3 separate regions of the Homo sapiens genome follow, and all the other regions are linked to region 1. The links are contacts of gene promoters, found by promoter capture Hi-C in blood cells and fetal thymus (Javierre and others, 2016). All regions are on one chromosome and are shown on one strand. Each heading gives the region's core, a stretch centred on a gene start or on the middle of the fragment in contact. The rest is flanking DNA. Distances are from core to core; before and after follow the strand shown.

Region 1 (4,393 bases), core at 1,042-3,541:
GTTTTTAGAGGACGAATCCCTCACCTACTGTATCCCCTACTACTTCAAAAAAAATTTTTAGAAAATCTTATGACTTCTTTCCTAAAGATGTCTGGGGAAAATTCCATCCATATTGAGATGCAATTAGTTTGGGGGAAGAAGAAAAAATACACTTGACATTTGTTGTAGTTAATGCCTCTTAATTGCTTAAATTGGTGTGTATCTACTTAAAAGAGGACAGTCTTAAATTTTTATTCTGGTGATGTGGATTTTCTTGAAAGTGCATTGAGTATTAATGAAGATGGCGTATAGACTTTTATGTCATTGATGTATTAATGTGACACAACAAAATGGATTTCTTTCCTCATCAGTTTTTGTGTGAAGTTATCTTTAATTGAGGTACCTGTCCTAAGCACTGATAGCCTTTGGTTCTGTCTAGGAAAGGAAAAGAAAGGGACTTCACATTTTTTGAGTAACTGCCATGGGCCAGGCAGTTTATATGAGGGTTTCTCATTTAATCCTCACATCCTTAAGAAGGTGACTATCTCCATAATACAGGTGAGAAAACAGGCTTGTTAGTTGAATAAATTGCTTAAGATCACAGATTATTGGTTGGGAGCAAGGATTCAGACCTTGTTCGCTGGTAGCCGCAGGAAGCACTGAATAGTTTCCAACAGGGCACCTGAAAAATGGTTTACTACTTACCACTATTCTCTAATACTTCTTACCTGATTCAGTTCCTCCAGACACTCCCTGAAAATCTGTGTGCCAAACAGTGAAGTAAAGTACTTTTGCTATTAATGTAATTGAGGTTAAATATTTACGTGTGCAAAATTCGACGTTTTTCACTTGTCATTTATCTCTTTTTTCAAGTTGGCCATTTGTCTTGAAGCTCAACAGAATTGTAATGTTTAGCACTAAGGAAAGGAAAAGCTGTCAAGGAGCAAAAGCAGAAGGAAACCACTGCCAATGTGTGCAATATAAAAATAAGGGTAAAATAATTTTTACTTTATTTGAGACAGGTCTCTGTTGCCTAGGCCGAAGTGCAGTGGTGCAATCATAGCTCACTACAGCCTCGAACTCGTGGACTCAGACGATCCTCCTGCCTCAGTCTTCGAAGTAGCTGGGACTACAGGTGCGCGCCACCACCCCCGGCTAATTTTTTTTTTTTAAGAGACGGGGTCTGGCCATGTTGCTAAGGCTGGTCTCAAACTCCTGTGCTCAAGCTACATTTCCGCCTCAGGCCTCCCAAAGCGCCCAGATTGCAGGCGTGAGCCACTGCGCCCAGGCTGGGTGAAGTAATTTGTAAAACTTAGTCCTGTGGGAGTTATTTTAGCTTAGTCGATTTTCCTCATCCGTGAAATGGGATAACTTCCACCTGGTGCCCACTCAATAGATAAGAAGAAATAATGTCTGCAAAACATTGAGTACAGCGCCTCTTAGGCTTTCTTAAGTGAAGCTATCATCTGTCATTAGCTTTCTCTGACCCAGATGCTACACGCTGTGGGCTAGCAAGAACACGGCTTCAAATAAGGTGGGGAGAATGGCTGTAAGGGGACAGTGTTCCATTAATGGCCAAAAAAAAAAAAAAAAAAAAAGCAGCCTAAAAATCCTTTTAACGTATCCTTAAATATTCACTTGAGGGTTCAACCTTTCTTTCCTTTCTCCTGACCTCTATCGGCCCTAATTAACCTGTTCCTGCCGCCACCTAACTTTACCCTAATTTGGAAAAAGCTGTGACTGCCCAATACTTGTTCCTCTTTTCCCCCTACACCTTTGAGCACTAGAAAGCTCCAGACCCAGAGCTGCTGAGGGGCGGGAGAGGAAGGGAGTCACTAAGCCGCAGCCTGGCCCTTCCTCCCAGGGCAGCGTAAATTCACGCAAACATTGATTCGTTCGCTCAACAAACATTGGGAACCTAAGTGCCAGGCTTGTGCCAGGCCCCAGTCTCTGACCTCATGGAGCCCACAGCCCACTGGGGAACAGAGATTAAGCCATGAAACACGAAAATGAGTGCCACAAAGACGTGAGCTACTAGAGTATCAGGACCGACCTCCTTTAGACCGCTGGATGGGAGAGTCGTTTGTGAGGAAGTGACTTTTAAGCTGAGGCCTGAAGGGTGATCTGAGGGAGCTGCTCTTGGCCATCGATATGCCGCGCGACTCCCCAGGCCCTCGGACCCGGAGCCTGGACCAAGGCTGGGCGGGAAGGCCCCGGGCCAGGGGCGGAGCCACCTCGGCGGCGAAAGCCGGAAAGCGGAAGCCGAAGGCTGCTGCCCGGTGGTCGGCTGAGCGGCTCTAGCCCAGATCTCAGACGGCTGAGTCACTGCATCCCGGCGCGGCCCGCAGAAGACGAGCGCCGCTGCCGCCGCCTCCTCCTCCCGGGCTCCCGGGCTCTCGGGGTCCGGGGCCTTTGCACCTGTCTTTTCCAGCTGGGCACAAAGCCTTTTGCTGTCGCCGTGGCGACTGGAGGCCTTCACTTTTAATCCCCCTCATTTTCCAGTTCATTCTCTGCTTATTTTCTGGTCAGTCCGTGACCCTGTAGGCGGCCTCTGACCGGCGATCGATTTGCCGCCCTCAGGGCGCTGGGCGGCCGGCTGCCTCCGAAGCTGGGGCGGCCTCCGCGGTCTCCATGGTAACGGCCTCTCCGGCGTCTCCGCCTGGAGGGGAAGATGCGGCCTGCCTGGCCCGCCGCCTCGCCCCCGGCCTCACGGTGGGACCCCGGGCACTGAGGACGGAGGTCCCGGGCGCCGGCCCGCGGGGCAACGGGCACTAGGTGAGAGCCGGACGCGGGCGAGCGAAGGAGGCGGGTGCCGGGCGACTCCAGCGGCGGCCCCTGCCCCTCCCCCGCACCCACGAACACGCTCGCCCGATATATTGCAGAGGCTTCTCCGGTCGCCGCTGCGCCAGTTTTTTTTTGTTTGTTTGTTGTGTTTTCCCTGGCAAACAGCTGGAGAAAGAGCAGCTCATGGAGAGGCTGAGAGAAGCGGTTTTCGCGTCCTACCCAAACTGGGAGAGTAACCTTCAGCAGCTGGACTCACCGATTGGTTTTCCTTCATTTTCAGTGAAATCCCATTCTCTGGCTGGAGACACAGATGGCCTCAAATGAGAGAGATGCTATATCGTGGTACCAAAAGAAGGTAATACATATATATATTTTTTTTATTTGTAAAGCATTCTTCCTGCAAAAAGCTCCCACAAATAATATAATGTTACTTTCCCCCGAGTTTAGTAGTGCCAGGTGTTCATGTATACTTCAACATAAATGAAAAAAAAAAAAAAAAGATGTACAAGGTCATTATGTCTTTTAAACCCGGTTCCAGGTCCCAGAATAAGGTTTACAAGCCACCTCCTTCAGGCTGCATACACAATGCCACCGCAATGCTTTGAAAGTTTGCTTCTGATCAAACTGCTTAAAAACAAAAAAGACATGAAACCTGTATGTGCACAGCTCAGATTGATACTATCAACAATCTTATTGAGCTGTTCCTTATCTTTTATTCCTCTCTAGTTTTTCTAGTGCTCTTTTCCTTAAGAAGTGGATTTTTTTTTTTTTTTTTTTTTTTTGAGACGGAGTTTCGCTCTTGTTGCCCAGGCTGGAGGGCGATGGCGCGACCTCGGCTCACTGCAAGCTCCGCCTCCCGGGCTCAGCCTCTGGAGTAGCTGGGATCACAGGCGCCCACCACCACGCCCGGCTAATTTTTTGTATTTTTAGTAGGGACGGGGTTTCACCATGTTGGTCAGGCTGGTCTCAAACTACAGGCGTGAGCCACCATGCCCGCCCAAGAAGTGGAAATATCTTTTAAGGTAATATTAATTTGAAATATTTTGGGCATTGCTTTTGAACTTACTTTTAGGTCCAGCTATTTTAGATTTTTGAAGGAAACAGTCCTTCGAAGTATTGATTTATTCTAACTTTTGAGAAGCATATTTTCCACATAGCATATTGATACTTAATAGGCTCATGACTTTTATGAGGCTTGACTTAATAATGTAAGGATTTCCTTTGCATCGTTTAACTAATAGACTACTCCCTCTTTCAGATTGGAGCCTACGATCAGCAGATATGGGAAAAGTCAATCGAACAGACTCAGATTAAGGTAAATTGATTTCTTTGATTCCGCCTATGTTTCACTGCATTAATATGAAGAGTGGAATTGTACTTACCTGGTAAACTCTGCATTTAACTACCAGTATGGCATTCTTTAATCTTTGAAGGTTATAAGAAAAGCAGTGCAAGCATAATGAGAAGTGACACTTGATTTTTGGCCTCACTATCAGGAAAACAGAAAGGAGTGAGTTGTTCTATGATGAATTAGAGAGCAAATGTCCCATATAAATAGGGCTGGGGTTACTTAGCTCTGGCTAGTTTTTACCACTTGGCAGTGCAGGTCCAAATATTGCCAGAGTTTCAG
Region 2 (4,393 bases), core at 1,163-3,662, 660 kb after region 1:
AACTACACATATTTAATGTGTACAATTTGATGAGAACGTGCATTTTTAAGAAAGTTATGAAATTTAATTATTAATCAATGCAAAACATAGCATAAAAGTGTCTATCAAGATGTTAAAGCTCAATGAGGTGAACAACCATCTTGACCACTGATAAACTGGTAATTTTCAGATGTTAAATTCATTATATTCCTCATGTCTCCATTCAGAGCAAAAGATTGTCAGATGAAAGAAATTCAGACAAGTGTGAACCTTTGGAGAAATTCTTCTCATGGGAAAAGATCTAAAATCTTATGTGAGAGAATGCTCTACTTCTGCTAGATAAATTACTCACAAATCTCCTACAATTAAACAAACTACAAATTAAACAGATTACCAACACATTACTCTACTTTCTCAATGCATTCCTTTTACTTGAATAGAAATTCTACTTCCATAAATAACTTCTCTTTAAGTGTCCACAGGAATGCTTTTTCAATAAAAAGTGCCCCGACAACAACAACAAAAAAACACAAAAACAAAAAAACTAGCTGGGCATGGGGGCTCATGCCTATAATCCCAGCACTTTGGGAGGCCAAGGTGGGAGGATCACTTGAGCCCAGGAGTTCAACACCAGCCTGGGCAATATAGTGAGACTCTGTCTCTACAAAAAAAAAAATTTTAATTAGCTAGGCATGGTGATACACACCTTTAGTCCTAGCTCCTTAGGAGGCCAAGGTGGGAGATCACTTGAGCCTAGGAGGTTGAAGCTGCTGTGAGCTGTGATTGCACCACAGCACTCCAGCCTGGGTGACAGAGCAAGACCCTGTCTCAAAAAAAAAAAGAAAAAAACCAGCCAAGTTCAGTGGCTCATACCTATAATCCGGGCACTTTGGGAGGCTGAAGCAGGCAGATCACGAGGTCAGGAGTTCAAGACCAGCCTGGCCAAGATGGTGAAACCCTGTCTCTACTAAAAATACAAAAATTAGCTGGGCATGGTGGCATGCGCTTGTAATCCAAGCTACTCAGGAGGCTGAGGCAGGAGAATTGCTTGAACCAGGACCTAGGAGGCAGAGGTTGTAGTGAGCCGAGATCGTGCCACTGCATCCCAGCCTGGGATACAGAGTGAGACTCAGTCTCAAAAAAACGAACAAACAAACAAACAAAGAAACCCCACAGAGCTCCCAGAGTGTCAGAAAGCTCAGACTTTGTAGCCATATGAAATAAACATAATTCAATCATATTTACAGCCGGTTCTTGAAAACATGCCTATGTAGACATACATAAATATTATAATACATACAGTTTAGTGAGACTTGTGAGTCCAGCAAAGGCTTCACTAGCATCTTCTATGGCCCATGAAATTTCATTGTTTCTTAAGTCTCTACAAAAATGTCAGAGAAAGACAGGTGCTATTAGTCAATACAACCATCACAACATTGAGCAGTATCCTGGTATGGTGATGTCAAGGTACACATGCTAATTCTGATCCTTACTTTAACAGTTATTTATGATGAAGGCTCAACTCTGCTTCTTAAGAAATATCTGTAATAAACACGTAAGAAATATCTGTAATAAACACGTAAGAACTGATTCTTATAAGCTAACAATTAAGCTGGCCTTGGTAAATAAAGCAACCTGCTAAAAGTATTACTCTTCCAAGCAAAGAGCCCTTCATTATGTTAGCATATTAAAAATTATAAACAGGGTCCTGAAAAGAGCAGGAGGGTTTCAAGATGCAGGGTATATGGCTTATAAATCTGATTTCAGATTAATGGGATTTCTGGGTGACCCAAGCCTTCCTCTGGGACCTTGAACTTACAATGGCTGACAGAGAGTAATATCAATACAGTTTCATTGCTCAAGAGCAATTAAAGATGCCCCATGGGAAGCAAAAATGATAAACCCATGTGTTAGCGTGTCATCAGATTTTCTTTCAAAGGGAAAGTATGGATCTCCTAAAATTCACTGTTCCATTCTCAGAGGAAATGCAATTGTACCACATCATGTTATGATAAAAGAATTATTTCCATATAATTAAAAATATTTAATCGCTTTTGCTTCCTTAAGTCATCTCATAATAAAGCACAAAGCTTTCTACTTTATAAGGGACATGTAGAGTTGTGTGATTAGCAGTAAAGAGGAGATCCCTGTTTTCACTTAGCTTTCTTTAAGTGAAAAGCTAATAAAGCTCATTTTATTTTACTAAGGAATAAATAATGAAAGAACCAATGGCTCAACTCTTCAGGATTTTCCCCCTCCTCCACAGCACAGCATAAATAGAAACCATTCAACAAATTAAGAACTGTATCTACCCTGGCAAGAGCATGAGGCTAAAGCCAGAATTCCCCAGATTTGATCCTAACTCTGTCTTAACTATCTCTGTGGCACTACACAACCATTTACTTCTGCTATTACTTCCCAAAACTTTAATTCTAAAAGTAATAATCAGTGGTATACTAAAATAACCTATTTGCCATCCCTTCAACTGCCAAAAGGCTGCAGCTACATCTAAGTTTCTGAGATTGCATTGATCCAGTTTCACTTCTGATAATATAGGAAAAGGAAAAATACAATCACTTTTAATTTTTCAAGGCCAAATCTAAAGGAATTTTTTAAAAAATCAAATACACACCTGTGCATGTATATACCCTTCACAAAATTATCTTGTTTTCCCTCTCATTGATGGTTATGTCTCCAAGTTGGGAACCTGCCTCTTCTCTGAACCATTTCAACTCGAAACCTAATGACCACAAAGTCCTCTATTCAGGAAGCTTAAGAATCTACAAATTCTACTAATTACTCTTTGTTTTCTTTTATTCTGCTCTGTGTTTGAGATTACTATATTTCATTAAAATACCTCTTCATTTAATAAAATTATATTCTAAAATTAGATATATTTATATATAAATATATAAAGTTCACAAAAACACATTCTTATATTCTGTAAATTGAATAACTTACAGAACCACAGAATTTTAGCGTGGAAACTGCCTTTAGCAACCATCTAATCCTATATCCTTCCTTCACCGTATAAAGGAGAAAAAAAAATGATGGCCAGGAAAAGCTAAGTGATTTTGTTCTTCTGTTGGTATGATAAAATGGACATGAGCTTTAGCATCAAACAGACCTGGGATCTGATTCTGGCCCAACATTTACAAGCTATGTGACTTAGAGAAAATTATTTAAATTTCTCTGAACCTCAGCCTCCTAATATGGAAAACAGCAGTATCATCCTAGTATTTGAAAGTACCTGGCACATATCAGATAATAAGTATTAGTTTCTTCTGTCCAAAGTCATGTAGCAAACCAGTAACAGTGAACTGGTCTCCTACCACGGCAGTTCCCACTACACAACCTGCATCCTTTCGAATGAGAACTAGTAGCTCTGGTGTATTGTCAAAGTCAAAGGAACAAGAAAATGACTGCTCTCCTGACACTAGCAACTGTGTTTTATTCCACAGCAACTAACACAATAAGACATGCTTTGATGCTTATGGGATTAACTCAGAATTAAACTACAAACTGAATTGCCTACGACAGGCTTGGGATTTTTATGGGGATGGAGACAAATAAGACTGCCTTGCTCTGAGGCATAGGACAGAAGAACCACAAAATGTTAGCATACAGAATTTGCAGACTGATTAGTTGTTTTAATTAATTTGCTTTATTGTACTAAAAAAATCAGTAACAACAACCAAAAAGGAGAATGGATATACTTACAATGTCTGAAGATTGGAAAGAAATCTAAATACACCATCAGCAATATGAGTGACTCTGTTGTCTCCTAAATTCAATCTCTCCAATAAGCTCAGACCCACAAAGGCAGATTCATCCAGGCGGGTCAGCTGGTTATAGGACAAATCACTGAAAACAAGAAATGTGGAAGGTAAGGAATTCATTGTATTTGGTTCAACTTACAATTCTTATTATATCTACATGGTAAATTTAGAGCTTTCTACAAATTTCTAGTAAAGAGGGATGTTACATCTCATTACTGCCCATGGGAATGATTTATTCCAATCTGCTCTAGTCTTAACTGCCTCCAGTGAAATGCTATCCAACACTTACAGTTCGGATAGTCTTTGGCAGAACTCCCATGCATCAGGGCTGATTCTTTCAATAGCATTCTGGCTCACATAGAGCTGCTGTAACATTCGCAAGCCATACAACCACCCCTTGTTTACTCGTGTAAGGTTGTTGTGTTCCAGTTCTCTGCAGAATTAGAGAAAGAGAAGAAAATACGTTCCAAAACAAGGCAGTTCAATAACTAGCTTTAAATCTTAAGTTTTTCCCAGAGAAGCATATACCTTTGTTCAACCCAACTGAGCTGACCAATTCTATTCAATAAAAATGAATATCTTATTTAAGATTTAGTGCTTGGCCGGGCACAGTGGCTCATGCCTGTAATCCCAGC
Region 3 (4,393 bases), core at 545-3,044, 640 kb after region 1:
ACTGGACTCCAGCCTGGGCAACAGGGCTAGACTCCATCTCAAATAAAAAAAAAAAAACTTCTCAGTAGGCCGGGCACAGTGGCTCATGCCTGTAATCCCAGCACTTTGGGAGGCCAAGGTGGGTGGCTCACCTGAGGTCGGGAGTTTGAGACCAGCCTGACCAACATGGAGAAACCCCATCTCTACTAAAAATAGAAAATCAGCTGGGCATGGTGGCACATGCCTGTAATCCCAGCTACTCAGGAGGCTGAGGCAGGAGAATTGCTTGAACCCGGGAGGCGGAGGTCCTGGTAAGCCGAGATGGCATCATTGCACTCCAGCTTGGGAAACAAGAGCGAACCTCCATTTCCCAAAAAAAAAAAAAAAAAAAATCTTCTCAGTAAAAACCATCACCAAATTATGCCCAAATTTTATTATTACTATTTTTTGGAGACAGAGTCTCACTCTGTTGCCCAGGCTGGAGTGCAGTGGCACGATCTCAGCTCACTGCAACCTCCATCTCGAGCTTAAGTGATTCTCGTGCCTCAGCTTCCCGAGTAGGTGGGACTACAGGCATGCACCACCATGTTAGGCTAATTTTTGTATTTTTAGTGGAGACAGGGTTTCCCTATGTTGGCCAGGCTGGTCTCAAACTCCTGACCTCAAATGATCCACCTGCTTTGGCCTCCGAAAGTGCTAAGATTACAGGCGTGAGCCACTGTGCCCGGCCCCCCATATTTTATTCTTTTATTTAAATAAAGATCGGAGAAAAATTAATACCCTATATGATACCGGGTGCGGTGGCTCACACCTGTAATCTCAGCACTTTGGGAGGCCAAGGCAGGCAATCACATGAGGTCAGGAGTTCATGACCAGCCTGGCCAACATGGTTAAACCCCACCTCTACTAAAAATACAAAAATTAGCTGGGTGTGGTGGTGCACGCCTGTAGTCCCAGCTTCTTGGGAGGCTGAGGCATGAGAATTGCTTGAACCAGGGAGGCAGAGGTTGGCATGAGCCAAGATTGCACCACTACATTCCAACCTGGATGACACAGTGATACTCTGTCTCAAATAAATAAATAAATAGCCTGTATGAAACCTTTTAAAAGCTTTTTGTGTATGGCCTCTGAATTTTCAGTAGTGTGATCCTGTTACCCCCACAAAAGTTGTTTCCATCCTATAGATGAAGACTTCTTTGTAACTCTAGTATGCAGAAATCTCTGGCTATAGTTTATACCATTTAACAATGGCCAGTTACTCCTATATACCCATCTGCTTGCTTCCTGTCAAATGAGAGCACTACCTATATGATAGAAGGAAGAGTCAATTAGACGAAAGTAAAAACAAAATAACAACAAAAATACATCCCTTACCACCGCTCATCTGTGTGGAGGGAAGTTTCTTCTCACTTATCCTCTCATGGTTGGTGGGAAAGGCAGATGGCTCTCTGTTGGCTGACGGTATCAGGCTCTCTAGGGCAGTAGTATCCTGGGGAGGATGTACTAAATATGTCTCTTTAGGCATTTGGACCATGAGGCTGGACAGTGTCTGATCAAGAACGTCCTCCTCAGCAATATAGGTGTATGGACAGTATTCTCGGGTCCTGGAGTAGATGTTGGCATTGTCATAACAATCTGAGCAAATCACCCGGGTACCAGTGCCACCTAATAACAAGAAAAAGAATCTAAATATCTTTCTGTTAAGGAATTATTTTTTGCCAATCGTCAGTTTTCTTCAAAAGTTGTCATCATCATTGCTAGCATGTATTGAGCACTTACTTTATAAAGTAGGTGAAGTTTCAAGCCATTTCTGTGAATTGATTCATTAATCCTCACAACATCCCTATGAGGTAGGTATTATTATTATCCCCACTTTACAGATAGGGTAAACTAAAGCACAGAGAAGTTAAGTAACTTAACCAAAGTCATACCGCTACCGGGTGCGGTGGCTCACGCCTGTAATCCCAGCACTTTGGGAGGCCGAGGCGGGCAGATCACAAGGTAAGGAGATCTAGACCATCCTGGCTAACACGGTGAAACCCCATCTCTACTAAAAATACAAAAAATTAGCCAGGCGTGGTGGCGTGCACCGGTAGTCCCAGCTACTCGGGAGGCTGAGGCAGGAAGATGGCGTGAACCCGGGAGGCGGAGCTTGCAGTGAGCCGAGATCACGCCACTGCACTCCAGCCTGGGCGACACAGCGAGACTCTGTCTCCAAAAAAAAAAAAACAAAGTCATACTGCCAGAGTGAGGAGCAGAAACAGCCATTCTGGCTCCAGAGCCCATGCTCTTGAAAACTACACTGAACCATCTCTGTCTATTGTGGATAGACAGATCATGCCCAAATCAAGGGAGCAAGATAAGGCTGGTACTGTGCTACAAGACACATGCTTGGCTTAAGCAAACTAAGTCAGAGAATAAGGAGTTATGATGACTTCACTTCATGAAAAACCATGTTACTTTAATGAGTCAAGAGGTTAAGTAACACCAATTGCTACAAGCATCCCTAGGGAAAGCTTCTGACAATGAGAAGTCCTGCCTGACAAGTACATGGTTGACAGAAGTATAGGTTTAACAATGAACTCCCTGGATTATTATGTGCTTTGAAAACTGAATGATGAAGGAGAGAAGAGAGAGTGAGAAATAAAGAGTGAGTTACTTATTCAAAATCATGCAACAGGCCAGGAGCAGTGGCTCATGCCTGTAAGCCCAGCACTTGGGGAGGCCGAGGCAGGTGGATCACCTGAGGTCCGAAGTTTGAGACCAGCCTGGCCAATATGGTGAAACCCCATCTCTACTAAAAATACAAAATAAGCCGGGCATGGTGACAGGTGCCTGTAATCCCAGCTACTCAGGAGGCTGAGGCAGGAGAATCGCTTGAACCGGGGAGGCAAAGGTTACAGTGAGCTGAGATGGTGCCATTGCACTCCAGCCTGGGTGACAAGAATGAAACTCTGTCTCAAAAAAACCAAAAAACAAACAAAAAAAAATCATGCAACAGAATGTTAGAATTGGAAGAGAGTGAAAAGTAATTTAGTTTAACCCAGAAAGCAGTGTTATTTCCCACATACTTCAAAGAACAGACTTTTAAGTATTCTTTTAAAAGTCAGAAATGCCAGCCAGGTGCGGTGGCTCATGCCTGTAATCCCAGCACTTTGGGAGGCTGAGGCAGGCAGATCACAAGGTCAGCAGTTCAAGACCAGCCTGACCAACATGGTGAAACCCGTCTCTACTAAAAATACAAAAATTAGCCGGGTATGGTGGCACGCACCTGTAATCCCAGCTACTTAGGAGGCTGAGGCAGAGGAATCGCTTGAACCTGGGAGGTGGAGGTTGCAGTGAGCTGAGATCGTGCCACTGCACTCCAGCCTGGGTAACAGAATGAGACGCTTTCTCAAAAACAAAAAAAAGAGTCAGAACTACTATATTTTTCATGAAAAGCCAAAATCCAATTTATCAATTAGATAAAGTTCTGTTGACACCCAGCCTAAAAAAGTCTCTGAAGAAATGGAATAAATCTTCCATTTGTATAGTATTTGAAGTACCACACAGATTTGCTGAAAAGATCTGTGAGAATCTTGGGGGAAGTGCTTTACAAATTATTGTCTCTTTATTTAAAAATTAGAAAAGTAAAGCTCAGATCTTAAGTAACTAGCTTCATGGTCACAGAGCTGGAAAAAGGAAGAAGTATCAATTAAACCCAATTCTTCTGTCCCTTAATTCATTCAGTTCTGTCACTCCCTATGGGAGCGAGGCTATGAAAAGGGTGGAGGGAGAAGAACTCTGTGTATGGGTACGCATCTCTACGTGTTGGGATGTCAGGTTCATTTAATTAGGGAACTCTTTACATCTCTCTGATGTTCTCCAGTATATGCTGAGAACCATTGCTACCATTTGTTGATTTCTTTTAGAGGTGGGGAGTCTTGCTATGTTGTCCAGGCTAGAGTACAGTGGCTATTCATAGGTGCACTCACAGCACAATACAGCCTCGAACTCCTGGCCTCAAGTAATCCTGCTTCAGCCTCGTGGGTAGATGGGACTACAGGCATGCCACCATGCCTGGCTCCTAGCTACCCTTTAAACTTTACTGAATGTCTACCTGTCAGGAAGAGAAACCAGCCTCCCTTGGATGTGGTCTGAAGGATGCCCACGCCTGAAAAGGGTAAGAAAGAGATACCTGAAAAAAGTTTGCAGAATATCCCTTTCCTATAATTACACAAGTTTGGGAGCCTCTGCTGTGTACTCTGATCTCTTGTTTAATGTGTTTCTCCACTCTGTAAGATGATTTTCATATCCTTTTAAGACTTTAGTCAATTTTCATCCTATTTTGCATGTGGCTAAATGCTTTCATTAGGTATCTTACTTTAAAATATTGCTTCAGATTAATGGAGAAACTACACACTGAAAAGTAAAC

The links. The method cuts DNA at HindIII sites, captures the fragments that hold promoters and counts their contacts. A CHiCAGO score of 5 or more calls a contact.
Region 2: a contact is called between a fragment that was not itself captured here and the fragment with the promoter of PHTF1 in region 1, in 1 of 17 cell types (M1 macrophages). The highest score is 7.4, in M1 macrophages.
Region 3: a contact is called between a fragment that was not itself captured here and the fragment with the promoter of PHTF1 in region 1, in 3 of 17 cell types (M1 macrophages, M2 macrophages and erythroblasts). The highest score is 7.2, in M1 macrophages.

What each region holds. Positions count from the first base shown.
Region 1 is chr1:113,757,384-113,761,776 of GRCh38, reverse strand. It overlaps PHTF1 (putative homeodomain transcription factor 1), which reads left to right and starts at 2,291. Exons shown (of 19, transcript NM_001323043.2): 1 at 2,291-2,754; 2 at 3,044-3,118; 3 at 4,022-4,078. The coding sequence starts at 3,074. RefSeq lists an enhancer at 1,839-2,418 and silencers at 2,569-2,888, 3,522-3,651. The HindIII fragment of the contact is 13,975 bases long and covers 1-4,393 here.
Region 2 is chr1:113,095,672-113,100,064 of GRCh38, reverse strand. It overlaps LRIG2 (leucine rich repeats and immunoglobulin like domains 2), which reads right to left. Exons shown (of 18, transcript NM_014813.3): 7 at 4,048-4,191; 8 at 3,700-3,843; 9 at 1,280-1,360. Among named protein-coding and RNA genes, the nearest start is that of LRIG2, 25 kb to the right of the region's middle. The HindIII fragment of the contact is 681 bases long and covers 2,072-2,752 here.
Region 3 is chr1:113,116,484-113,120,876 of GRCh38, reverse strand. It overlaps LRIG2 (leucine rich repeats and immunoglobulin like domains 2), which reads right to left. Exons shown (of 18, transcript NM_014813.3): 17 at 1,354-1,644. Among named protein-coding and RNA genes, the nearest start is that of LRIG2, 45 kb to the right of the region's middle. The HindIII fragment of the contact is 1,406 bases long and covers 1,092-2,497 here.